Regions from separate parts of the Homo sapiens genome. Here regions 2 and 3 are each linked to region 1. The links are contacts of gene promoters, found by promoter capture Hi-C in blood cells and fetal thymus (Javierre and others, 2016). All regions are on one chromosome and are shown on one strand. Each heading gives the region's core, a stretch centred on a gene start or on the middle of the fragment in contact. The rest is flanking DNA. Distances are from core to core; before and after follow the strand shown. Region 1 holds the start of ENTPD8 (ectonucleoside triphosphate diphosphohydrolase 8). Region 2 holds the start of TMEM141 (transmembrane protein 141). Region 3 holds the start of RABL6 (RAB, member RAS oncogene family like 6).

The links. Contacts are between HindIII fragments. The CHiCAGO score rates a contact against its expected background, and 5 or more counts as called.
Region 2: a contact is called between the fragment with the promoter of TMEM141 here and the fragment with the promoter of ENTPD8 in region 1, in 5 of 17 cell types (naive B cells, total B cells, activated CD4 T cells and 2 more). The highest score is 7.8, in naive B cells.
Region 3: a contact is called between the fragment with the promoter of RABL6 here and the fragment with the promoter of ENTPD8 in region 1, in 3 of 17 cell types (total CD4 T cells, erythroblasts and neutrophils). The highest score is 7.5, in total CD4 T cells.

Annotation. Positions count from the first base shown.
Region 1 is chr9:137,439,084-137,442,606 of GRCh38, reverse strand. ENTPD8 (ectonucleoside triphosphate diphosphohydrolase 8) reads left to right here and starts at 1,250. Exons shown (of 10, transcript NM_001033113.2): 1 at 1,250-1,321. RefSeq lists a silencer at 1,096-1,390. The HindIII fragment of the contact is 13,084 bases long and covers 429-3,523 here.
Region 2 is chr9:136,789,666-136,793,188 of GRCh38, reverse strand. TMEM141 (transmembrane protein 141) reads right to left here and starts at 1,845. Exons shown (of 5, transcript NM_032928.4): 1 at 1,765-1,845; 2 at 1,412-1,478; 3 at 1,159-1,242; 4 at 831-938; 5 at 1-370. The coding sequence starts at 1,818. The coding sequence ends at 357. RefSeq lists a silencer at 1,419-2,458. The HindIII fragment of the contact is 4,968 bases long and covers 1-3,523 here.
Region 3 is chr9:136,806,698-136,810,220 of GRCh38, reverse strand. It overlaps RABL6 (RAB, member RAS oncogene family like 6), which reads right to left and starts at 2,273. Exons shown (of 15, transcript NM_024718.5): 1 at 1,895-2,273. The coding sequence starts at 2,024. CCDC183 (coiled-coil domain containing 183) reads right to left here. Exons shown (of 14, transcript NM_001039374.5): 12 at 3,354-3,464; 13 at 3,155-3,251; 14 at 2,480-2,649. The coding sequence ends at 2,531. CCDC183-AS1 (CCDC183 antisense RNA 1) reads left to right here and starts at 1,373. Exons shown (of 5, transcript NR_024580.1): 1 at 1,373-1,494; 2 at 3,019-3,392. It also overlaps the pseudogene LOC100422233. RefSeq lists silencers at 1,462-1,991, 2,002-2,131, 2,152-2,211, 2,262-2,431, 2,632-2,861 and enhancers at 2,137-2,733, 2,734-3,329. The HindIII fragment of the contact is 3,360 bases long and covers 1,155-3,523 here.

The sequences.
Region 1 (3,523 bases), core at 1-2,500:
TAGCCTGGGTGACAGAGCGAGACTCCATCTCAAAAAAAAAAAAAAAAAAGGACAACTTCCCAGACTCATTTTATAAGCCCAGCATTATCCCCATACAGAAACCAGGACTAAAAAAGAAAACTATGCAACTTTGTTGAACACAACTGCAAAAATCCTCAACAAACACATTTGACTCTTATGACCCATGGCAGCTAGTGTATAAAGTTGCTGCAAACACTGAATTAAAGAATATGCTAAACTATTGCTCCTAAGGGAAATGCAAAGTTCTGTTCCTGCAAGCTTCTGGTCACATTTTTGTTAAATGATCAATATATTAATAAAACCTTCTTTTATGTGTATTTTTGTTTAAGGGCACCTTACTTAATATGTATTGTATCACTAACATTGAACTCATGGCCAACAGCGCTAACTCTTGCACGAATGAAGCTTATCCAATGTGTGTTTTCTCTGTAAAGTGCATCTCAGCCTTCTTGCATTTCTGCACTATGCTGAGACGCCATTATAAACAGTGAAATCACCAAGAAAAAGCACAAAAATGCACACACATGACACCAAATATGCTACCAGTAAAGAGAGTCCCGATTGAGACCCCAAGAGGGTTCTTGGATCTCACACAGAAAGGAATTCACCGCCCCCCCGCATTCCCCCACCCTATTCCCCGCCCCCCAACACCCCCAGCCCCACCCAGCCCGGCCCTGGCTCCGCGCCTCCCCCAGCCCCGCCCCGCTTCAGAGGCCCGGACCCCGACGGCGGCGGCCCCGGGACCCACGGCGAGCGGGAAAGGCAGAGTGGCTGCAAATGGAAAACGACGGGCGCCGCGGGGCTGCAGGCGCTTCCGCCCCCGCCCCGGGCCTGGACCTTCGGGGTCACCTGACTCCGACCTGCCCGGGCCGGGCGGCACGGGGGGTAAAGTCCGGGCCGGGGTCAGGAGCGCGGCTGCGGGCCGTGGGGGGCGGGGTCCCGGAGTTCTGCCCCTCGCAGCTCCAGGCTCCTCCTCAGCTTCCCTCTCCTGCCTCCCACCCCCCCGGGGGCGGGGCGACCCTGGGCACCGAGACAGACCCGCGGGTGGGAGATGCGGGGAGACCCTGGGCGGGGGACCCGAGGGTGGAGTGGGCGGGGCGACCTTGGGCGCTGGCCTCAGCCTGCGGGCCCTGGAGCCAGGTGCACAGCGCATCGCCCGAGGCTGTCACCGCCCTGCCCCGCCCACCCCAGCTGTCCTGGACCCAGGGGCAGGGAGAGGCTGGACGCCAGGTGCGCGGACACAGAAGCGTCTAAGCACAGCTTCCTCCTTGCCGCTCCGGGAAGTGGGCAGCCAGCCCAGGTGAGGGTCCAAAGGGATGTCCTGGGGGGGCTGTCCTGGTCTGGGGGGCTGTCCTGGTCTGGGGGGCTGTCCTGGTCTGGGGGGCTGTCCTGGTCTGGGGGGGCTGTCCTGGTCTGGGGGGCTGTCCTGGTCTGGGGGGGCTGTCCTGGTCTGGGGGACTGTTCTGTCTGAGGGGGTGTCCTGGTCTGGGGGGGCTGTCCTGGTCTGGGGGGCTGTCCTGGTCTGGGGGGCTGTCCTGGTCTGGGGGGCTGTCCTGGTCTGGGGGGGCTGTCCTGGTCTGGGGGGCTGTCCTGGTCTGGGGGGGCTGTCCTGGTCTGGGGGACTGTTCTGTCTGAGGGGGTGTCCTGGTCTGGGGGGGCTGTCCTGGTCTGGGGGGCTGTCCTGGTCTGGGGGGCTGTCCTGGTCTGGGGGGGGCTGTCCTGGTCTGGGGGGCTGTCCTGGTCTGGGGGGGCTGTCCTGGTCTGGGGGGCTGTCCTGGTCTGGGGGGGCTGTCCTGGTCTGGGGGACTGTTCTGTCTGAGGGGGTGTCCTGGTCTGGGGGGGCTGTCCTGGTCTGGGGGGCTGTCCTGGTCTGGGGGGGCTGTCCTGGTCTGGGGGGGGCTGTCCTGGTCTGGGGGGCTGTCCTGGTCTGGGGGGGCTGTCCTGGTCTGGGGGGCTGTCCTGGTCTGGGGGGGCTGTCCTGGTCTGGGGGACTGTTCTGTCTGAGGGGGTGTCCTGGTCTGGGGGGCTCTCCTGGTCTGGGGGGGGCTGTCCTGGTCTGGGGGGCTGTCCTGGTCTGGGGGACTGTTCTGTCTGAGGGGGTGTCCTGGCCTGGGGGGCTCTCCTGGTCTGGGGGGGGGCTGTCCTGGTCTGGGGGGCTGTCCTGGTCTGGGGGGGGCTGTCCTGGTCTGGGGGCTGTCCTGGTCTGGGAATCTGTTCTGTGTGAGGGGGTGTCCTGGTCTGGGGGGCTCTCCTGGTCTGGGGGGGGCTGTCCTGGTCTGGCGGGGGCTGTCCTGGTCTGGGGGGCTGTCCTGGTCTGGGGGGCTGTCCTGATCTGGGAGTCTGTTCTGTGTGAGGGGGTGTCCTGGTCTGGGGGGGCTGTCCTGGTCTCAGGGACTGTTCTGTGTGAGGGGATGTCCTGGCCTGGGGGACTCTCCTGGTCTGGGGGGGCTGTCCTGGTCTGGGGGGGCTGTCCTGGTCTGGGGGGCTGTCCTGGTCTGGGGGGGCTGTCCTGGTCTGGGGGACTGTTCTGTCTGAGGGGGTGTCCTGGTCTGGGGGGCTCTCCTGGTCTGGGGGGGGCTGTCCTGGTCTGGGGGGCTGTCCTGGTCTGGGGGACTGTTCTGTCTGAGGGGGTGTCCTGGTCTGGGGGGCTCTCCTGGTCTGGGGGCACTGTCCTGGTCTCGGGGGGGCTGTTCTGGTCTGGGGGGCGCTTTCCTGGTCTGAGGAGCTGTTCTGATCTGGGAGGCTGTTCTGGTCTTGGGGGTCTTTTGAGTGTGGGAGAGGTTGCCCCAACCTCTTTGCCTACCTGGAGGCTCAGGCCTGGGGGTCTCAGGTGGCTACATCTTCTGGGTGTGGAGTCCCTGTGTTCCTGGCCCCTGTCACCTGTTTGTCCCTATGAGGTGGCCTATGGCCTGGGTGCTGGTTGGGGACACAGGCTGGGCCCTGTCTGGGCTGGACCGGCCTCCTGTCCTCTCTGAGCCTCTGTCATCTACCCTCCTTAAAATGGGCTTATATCCCCCGGACATACAGAATTGCGTGAGGACCCCACAGCGTGTCCCACTTTCCACGTGCCCAGGAGCCCCAGGTCAGGACCAGGGCAGCACCCGCGCCTGCCACTCAGTGTGGGTGCAACGTTTCCCGGGGGAACACGATAGGACACGGTCACATGGGGTTCAGGTGCCGGGACCTTGGCAGGCAGCCTCTGGCTTTGACCACTCCTTTGGCAGTGGTACCCGTGTGAAGTGGGGCTGTATGGGGCACAGGGTCGGCCTGGGGTAGTTTGAGAGCTGAGACCCTTGCTGGGCGTTTGGGCAGAGGAGGAGGTGGACACCTCGGCCACAGGGCTAGAGAAGCCCAGGCCCCTCAGATGGCATCCCTGGGTCCACCTCCCGACCAGGCGCCATCTGGCACCAGCTAAGAAGGTGCAGAGTCAGATTAGGGAAGCCTTGGGCTGGATTTCCAGAGAAACCGATGTTGTTAAGAAGCCTCACACTCGGCTTCCTAG
Region 2 (3,523 bases), core at 596-3,095, 650 kb after region 1:
GATGCAGGGGCTAGAAAGGAAATGACAGAGTGTACAGGCCCCTTCGACCCCGTGTCCCATAGGTGGTGGCCCCCAGACACACCCTCTCTGCTGGCAGTGCAGAACATGCATCCCAATACCCTAGAGGAGAAACACCACCCCAGGGAGAGCCCTTTCTGCTCCAACCTCCTGGGCAGGTCCCAGGTTGGGGCAGCAGCCATCTGCAGGTGTTTGTCAGGCCTGGCCACACATGCGGACAGAGGATACGACTGGGGTACCCTAGGGTGTGGGGAGGGTCGGCCTGGGGTCAGGGGGCATGAAGGCTGTGTTCCAGACTCCTCCTGCCCCCAATCCTCTGTGCCCCTGCTGGAGCTCTCCTAGCTTCTCTGATCTGTAAAAGGCAAAGAGAGACAAGCTCGAACCACATCCATCGTGGCTGGGCATCCCTGTGCCCATTTTATCATGGCAGAAACTGGGTTCCGTAACAAGGACAACGGGCAGTGGAGGCCAGGCCTGGGTCCAATGCGGGGCTTCTCAGTCCAGCCTCACTCCTCTCGGGTGCCCACGTGGCTGCTGTGGCCTTGCCACACCCTTCACTCTGCACCCTTCCTCTCAATCTCAGGGGCACCCCAGCCCCTCTTGGTTCTTTCTCCTCAAAGGGAGCTCTCCAAGATCTGTCTACTGCGCCCACCCCCAGCTCCAACCCATCTGGCAGTCACATGCTGAGGAGGCCGGGCCAGAGGGAGGGACCTTGTCTAGCCTATCGCATGGTGCACCCAGGCTTGGCTGCCCAAAACTCTGGGTGCTGGAGAGGTGGCATTCACTTCTCGCTAACCCCCAGGCTCTCTCACCTGTGCTCCTGTCTTTGGGGAGCTGCCCGGTCTCCAGGAAGAGCCAGAGGTTGTTGCATTTCTCCGACTCCACTCTCGTCACCCCGTAGCTGACCACAGAGCCTGCAACTGTGGAGCAGGAAATGGAAGAGGGCTGGGGCCTCTGTGCTTCCCAGGCTAAGAGAACCGGGCACAGGCTACTTCCTGACAGACGTGGTGGGTGGGCTCAGGTGGGGCTCCCGCCGAGACCTGGGGCTCCATGTCAGAGTCAGGGACGCAGAACCACAGCCCCAACCCTAGCAGAAACCCACCCCTCAAAGAGCCCAGGCAGGGGCCCTGGAGTACCCACCCACGGCCACTAGGAGGCTCCACTGCAAAGGGTATGGAAACTTCCTCTGAATGAACATCTGCAAGCCAAAGGCCATGCCGGTGCCTGCAAAGAGCCGAGGTCCCCATCAACCTGTACCCGGGGATAGCCAGGGCCCACCTTGCCAGGCCCCCAGCACCTGCGGGCAGGTGACTTGGCGCCCCCTGCTGGGGAGTCAGGGCAGGGCGGGAGGGTGCGTTCTCTCCCAGCCGCAGGACACCTGGACGCAGCCTACCTGTGACGAAGGTGAAAACGCCCTTCATGAAGGCGTGTGACTGGCATGCGGCATACTCCCCGAGTCCCTGGGGTGGCAGAGGCGGGTGAAGGCTCGATCCCCTGCCCTCTTCCTTCACCGCCTCTCCTGTCCCTCCTCTGGGCACACCCTGGCTGTGGAGGAGTGAGACCCTGGGCGCTTGGACACGTCCCACCTCCCCTATGCCCACCCGGACGCCCTGAGCCCCTTAGCAAGAGAGTGCCCCCAGCCTCCGCCACTCTTCCCTGACGAGGGCACCCCCACGCCCCGGCCCCCCGCCTCGCTCAGGTCAGCTTCTGGGGTTTGAGGCCCGCGTCCCAGACCGGCCTTCTCACCGGGTGCTTGGCAGCCACGGCGTCGTCCACCCGGGACAGACCCAAGTTCACCATGGTTGGCAGGGCTCGGGGAGCGGGCCTGCGCAGGCGCAGGCGGAAGGGCGGGACGGGAACCTGGGGGTGTGGCCCAGAGGACAGGCCTGCGCAGTTACGGACGGAGGGGCAGGGCCCGGATCTGGGGGCGAGGCCTAGGGACCGGCCCGCGCTGGAACAGGCGGAGGGGGCGGGGCCTAGGAGACGGCGCCTGAGGGCGGGTCCGCGCGGCAGCAGGCGGAGGGGGCGGGACCTGGGAGACGTGATCTGGGGGCGGGGCCTGAGAGACGGGACTTTGGAGACGCGACCTGGGGGCGGGGCCTGAGAGACAGGACCGGGGAGCGGGCCTGCGCAGGCGGAGGTGTCGGGTTCTAAGAGGCGGGTCCTGCCGGGTGCAGGCGGAGGGGCCAGGGCCTTGGATTGGGGGCGGAGCATGGATCGAGCCTGCTAGAGCGCAGGGGAGAGGGGTGGGGCCTGGGGCCTGGCCACGCCTCTAGGAGCTTGGGCCCTGTGACCTCCGGCGACGACTGGGCGGGGCGAAGGCGGGCACCGGGCGGGGCGTGGCTGAGAGCGTGCGCTCCTCCCCCCGGCCGGGCCTCATTCCCACACTTGCAGAGGCCTGATGATTGTCAGTGTTATTTTGCTTGAGGACTACAATCAGGGATTGAATTTCTCATAAGCCACCACGGAGTGGGGATGTATAAAATCACTGTTTAGCAAAGTGGTTCTGTAACCAGCAGCTTAGTAGCTGAGCCTCAAACTCCTTTTGTTTTGCATGACAAAGAGTCTTTACTTTCAAATAATTATCGATACACCAAGTAATAACATGTACAAGTTCTTGAATTCTATCATCTAGTAATTTTGATTAAGAGAAACTAAAATCAGCCCAAACAATTCCACTAGTATTCACTGGTGTAACCATTAGCAAGAACGGAGGACTTCAAGTCAGGCTGCTGCTTCACACAGGTTACAAATAACTATTTACTACTTTTTCATCGATAAAGTCCCTGATCTTCAAGAAAGTGCTAGGGAAAAAAATTAACCCCTTCCTTTCTTCAAAGAATTATTATGTGGTTTTTTTTTTTAAACTAGATCAAAGAAAGAAAAAGTCAACACTGATATACGTGTTGCTTGAGCCAAAAGGCATGGGAAAAAAGACAACATATAACCATTAAATTCCTAAGAAATATGAGGTAAAAAGATGAAATCTTGGCCAGGTGCGGTGGCTTACGCCTGTAATCCCAGCACCTTGGGAGGCCGAGGCAGGTGGATCACAAGGTCAGGAGTTAAATACTAGCCTGGCCAAGATGGTGAAACCCCGTCTCTACTAAAAATACAAAAATTAGCCGGGCGTGGTGGCAGGTGCCTATAATCCCAGGTACTGGGGAGGCTGAGGCAGGAGAATCACTTGAACCTGGGAGGTGGAGGTTGCAGGGAGCCAAGATCGTGCCACTGCACTCCAGCCTGGGCGACAGAGTGAGACTCTGTTTCAAAAAAAAAAAAAAGGCTGAAGTCTTTAGATAATTTATAAGTCTGTACAAAAAAGCTAGATTTGCTACTCTTCAAAATGTGGAAGGACCTACTCTATAATATATGGAAATAATTTAATGCCATTTGTGGGGAAAAGAGAGATCAGACTGTTACTGTGTCTGTGTAGAAAAAGGAAGACATAAGAAACTCCATTTTGATCTGTACTAAGAAAAATTATTCTGCTTTGAAATGCTGT
Region 3 (3,523 bases), core at 1,024-3,523, 630 kb after region 1:
CAGTTTCCAGGTCCAGGCCTGATTTCCCAGGGACTAATACTGAGCTTAGCCAATACTGTAAGCAATAAAATTAAATAAAGGATCCAAACGCAGAGTCTAAAAACTGGCGTAAACTCAGTTATTTTGACTCAATATTCTCTTCTCCGAATGCCAGCTATGTATAAAGTTTCAATTATAACACATTTAAAATCAGCTTTTATTTTTATTCAAAATGCACCACTTTATTTTCCTTACCAGACAGCCAAGCATTAAGCACGTTCCAGTCACGTGACTTCTTCAGCGAGCCCCCAGGCTTCCACTCCACGGGAGTCTGGGAGCTCCTGGACAGAGGAGTCCTGAGATTTCAAATAGTCAAGCCTTCTCCCCAGCCACAAGTTCCTTTGATGCTTGGGTTACTGAACACAAACGCAATGGATTGTTTGTCTTCAACATAATCCGTTTCTGTTCCTAAACGTGTTGGCTGCGCTTTCTTTCTGATGAGCACGCTGACTCTAATTTGAACTTCATCAAAATCTTCTTTGTCGTCGTATGTTCTAGAGTATAAGAAAAGCCAATACGGCCCTTGGTTCGGACATCAACTTTCTTTTAAATTTTTTTTTCGTATTTTTAGTAGAGACGGTGTTTCACTATGTTGGCCAGGCTGGTCTCGAATTCCTGACCTCGTGATCTGCCCGCCTTGGCCTCCCAAAGTGCTGGGATTACAGGCATGAGCCACCGTGCCCGGCCCGGACACCAACTTTCATACCTAGATGCTCAGACTTATCTTTAAGAAGTTGTTTTATCTTGCTTACTGCTAAAGGTGTCTGGGTGAGGGTGGCCCGAGTGGTCTGCAGCTTCCTCTTGCTCACAGGCCGGGGGACTAAGGAAGGCGACATCTTCACTGTCCTCCTGGACTAGCTCCAGCCCCAGGAACTACGGCCTCTCTCCGTGCACACGGCACGCGAATTCATGAACTTGCTTTTAAACCTGCACAAGAGTCTTTCTGATCATTAGTTCTTAAAATTCTACATTACCATGGAAATATCACGGAGGCTCTAAGGCTCCCCTTAAAGTGACCAAAAAACTGGATAGGCGTAGCGTCCTAAAACCTCATAGAAACATACGGAAATGGCTAAGAGGGAAGCAATGTCAAAACAGGGAACCACATAAAAGCTTTCAAAAACTACTGGGAAAGAGCCCGCAAGATGGAAAAACTCATAAGAGGTCGAGGACAATTTACACAATTTATAACAAAGGAATGGAGCGTCCCAGGCACTCAGGAGTCCGTAAATGACTCCTCCTTCCTACGAGAAATGGGATGTCTCCTACAGTCGCAAGTCAGCCCGTGCCTTCTGGAGCTTTTCTAGATACGTCTCTTACAAACGCTTCTTTTAAAAAAAAAGGCGAGAATGTGTGGCGTAGCTAATATTCTGTCTTCAAACTCAGTAGGAAGTCAACAAAGAAAAATCCCGCTGAAAGCGCCAAGGCCGGCTGGGTTCCCCGCACCTCCTGCAGGTGAGTGGTGCCCGGGGCTGGGCACCGTGGAGCGTCGGGGGCGCGGCGCCCCGGGCCGGCGGGCCCTGCTTGGCATTATGTAATCACCCCCGGGCCGGGCAGCCGGGCCAACCCCGCCGCCGCCGACCCGCTCCACTGCACAGCGCGGCGGGAGCGACACGCGGCAGGCGAGTGCGGCTGGGAAACGACCCGCGGCTCGGGGGCCGCGAGGACCCGGCCCTGGCCTGGCCTCTCCTCGCGTCCCCTGGCCCGCGCCCCCGCTCCCGGAGCGCCCGGCGGGCCCAGCGCACCCCACAACCGGCAAGCAGGTGAGACCGACACCCACCACCGCGCGGCGCCCGGGGCCTGGGTTCGGAGACCCGCGCGGCGCTCCCGCGCCCCCCCGGCCCGCCGCACTCACTGTTGTACTGCACCCCCTTGGCGAAGCGCCTCTGCAACGCCTGGTTCATGGACTGCAGCCCGGCGGGGATGTTCTTGTCCCGGCCCGGGGCCTGGTCCGACCCCACCAGCTTCTTCAGGGCGGAAAACATCTTCCCGCTCGGACGTCCCAGCCCGGGCGCGGCCGGCGAGCTCAGCGGCGGCGGGGAAGGGGTGCGACTGGCACCATGTCCCGGCGGCCCCGGCCCCCCCGGAGGCCGGAGCCGGCGCGGCCAGAGGCCGGGGTCCCGGCGGCGGAGCGCAGCCCCGAGCGGCGACTCGGGAACCTCAGCCGCGGCTGCTCCGCTCCGGCCCCCGCGGCCTCCGGCGCGACCGCTCTCCAGGAGTCAGCGCCGCCATCTTGGCGCCGGCTCGGCGGGACGGGAGGGGTGCGCGGCTACGGGGCGCCGCGAGGGCCGCGGGGGCGCGGCGCGCGCGGTCGGCGCATGCGCACGCGGTTCTGGCGCGCAGTTCCGGGCCCGGGCTGCCTCCTTACGCAGAACCTCCCCCGATCCTGCGTGTCCCGTGCTCCTCTCCGAGACCCCGGTCGCCCCAGCGTCCGCAGCAGTCCTGGAAAAATGTTTATTTGTGTAGCAAAGCAGGGAGCGGGGCGGCGGGGCTACTTCTTCTTTTTCTTGGCCGCCTTGAGCTTCCCCTCGATTAGCCGCTGCGCCTGCCTCTTGATCTCGGCGCGCGAAGGGACGTAGCTGTGGTCCATGTCGGGGAACTGGAAGGTGTCTGCGGGCGGAGGCGGCGGCTCGCACACGGGGCTAGCCCAGCTAGGCGCAGCCGCCCGACCCGCCTCTCGCCCCCGCCCTCCACCGACCCGGGCCAGGTGCCTTGCCCCAGGGACAGCCCCAGCGTGCCGGGAGGACTCAGCCCAGCCCATTCGCAGCGGCTCACGCTGCCCTGCCTAGCCTTTCCCGCAGAACCCCCAGTGGAAGCTCCGGCCCAGGCCTTCACCGCGCTCCTCCCTGCTCCAGCCCTGGTGCCTCTCCTCCGGGCCCGTCTGGCATGGCATGCCTCCTCCTTTCGGAGAAATTAACAAGGTATTTCAGTGGCTTTAGCCTCCCCATGGCATCACTAAGTCACCTCCATCAATTAAAGTCCTGCAGGTACAACTGATGCACCCTGTAGCCCCGCTGTCCCTCCAGGATGTCCCGGTGGGATGGGAGCCGGCGCCACCCCGACCTGTGTTCCAGCCACCCGCCTGCAGCCCGGGCCCCAGTTCCGGGGCCTGTACCGATCATATCCTCCTCCCGGTTCTCAAAGCTGATCCTGGTGTTGTACTTCTCCATCAGAGTCGAGGACTCCAGGGTGTCCCTCACCTTTGTGTCGCCCTGCAGGGCAAAGCCCCCTTCAGCCGTGCAGACACTCTGAACGGGAGCCTGTCAGCTTTGAGGGGACGTGGGCTGTGCAGGTTCCTCCCAGCCCGGGGCTACCTCCTCGGTCCTGGACACCATCTGCACTCTGTCAGCCAGGTACGTGAGCTTCCCCTCGCAGTACGCCAGCTTGCTGTTCAAATCGAGGGTGTTGGAGAGCACCACTTCTCTCTGTAGGCCGGGAGGAGGGTCTCATCTCCCCTCTGGCCCTGCCCAGGGACCTGGTGTGT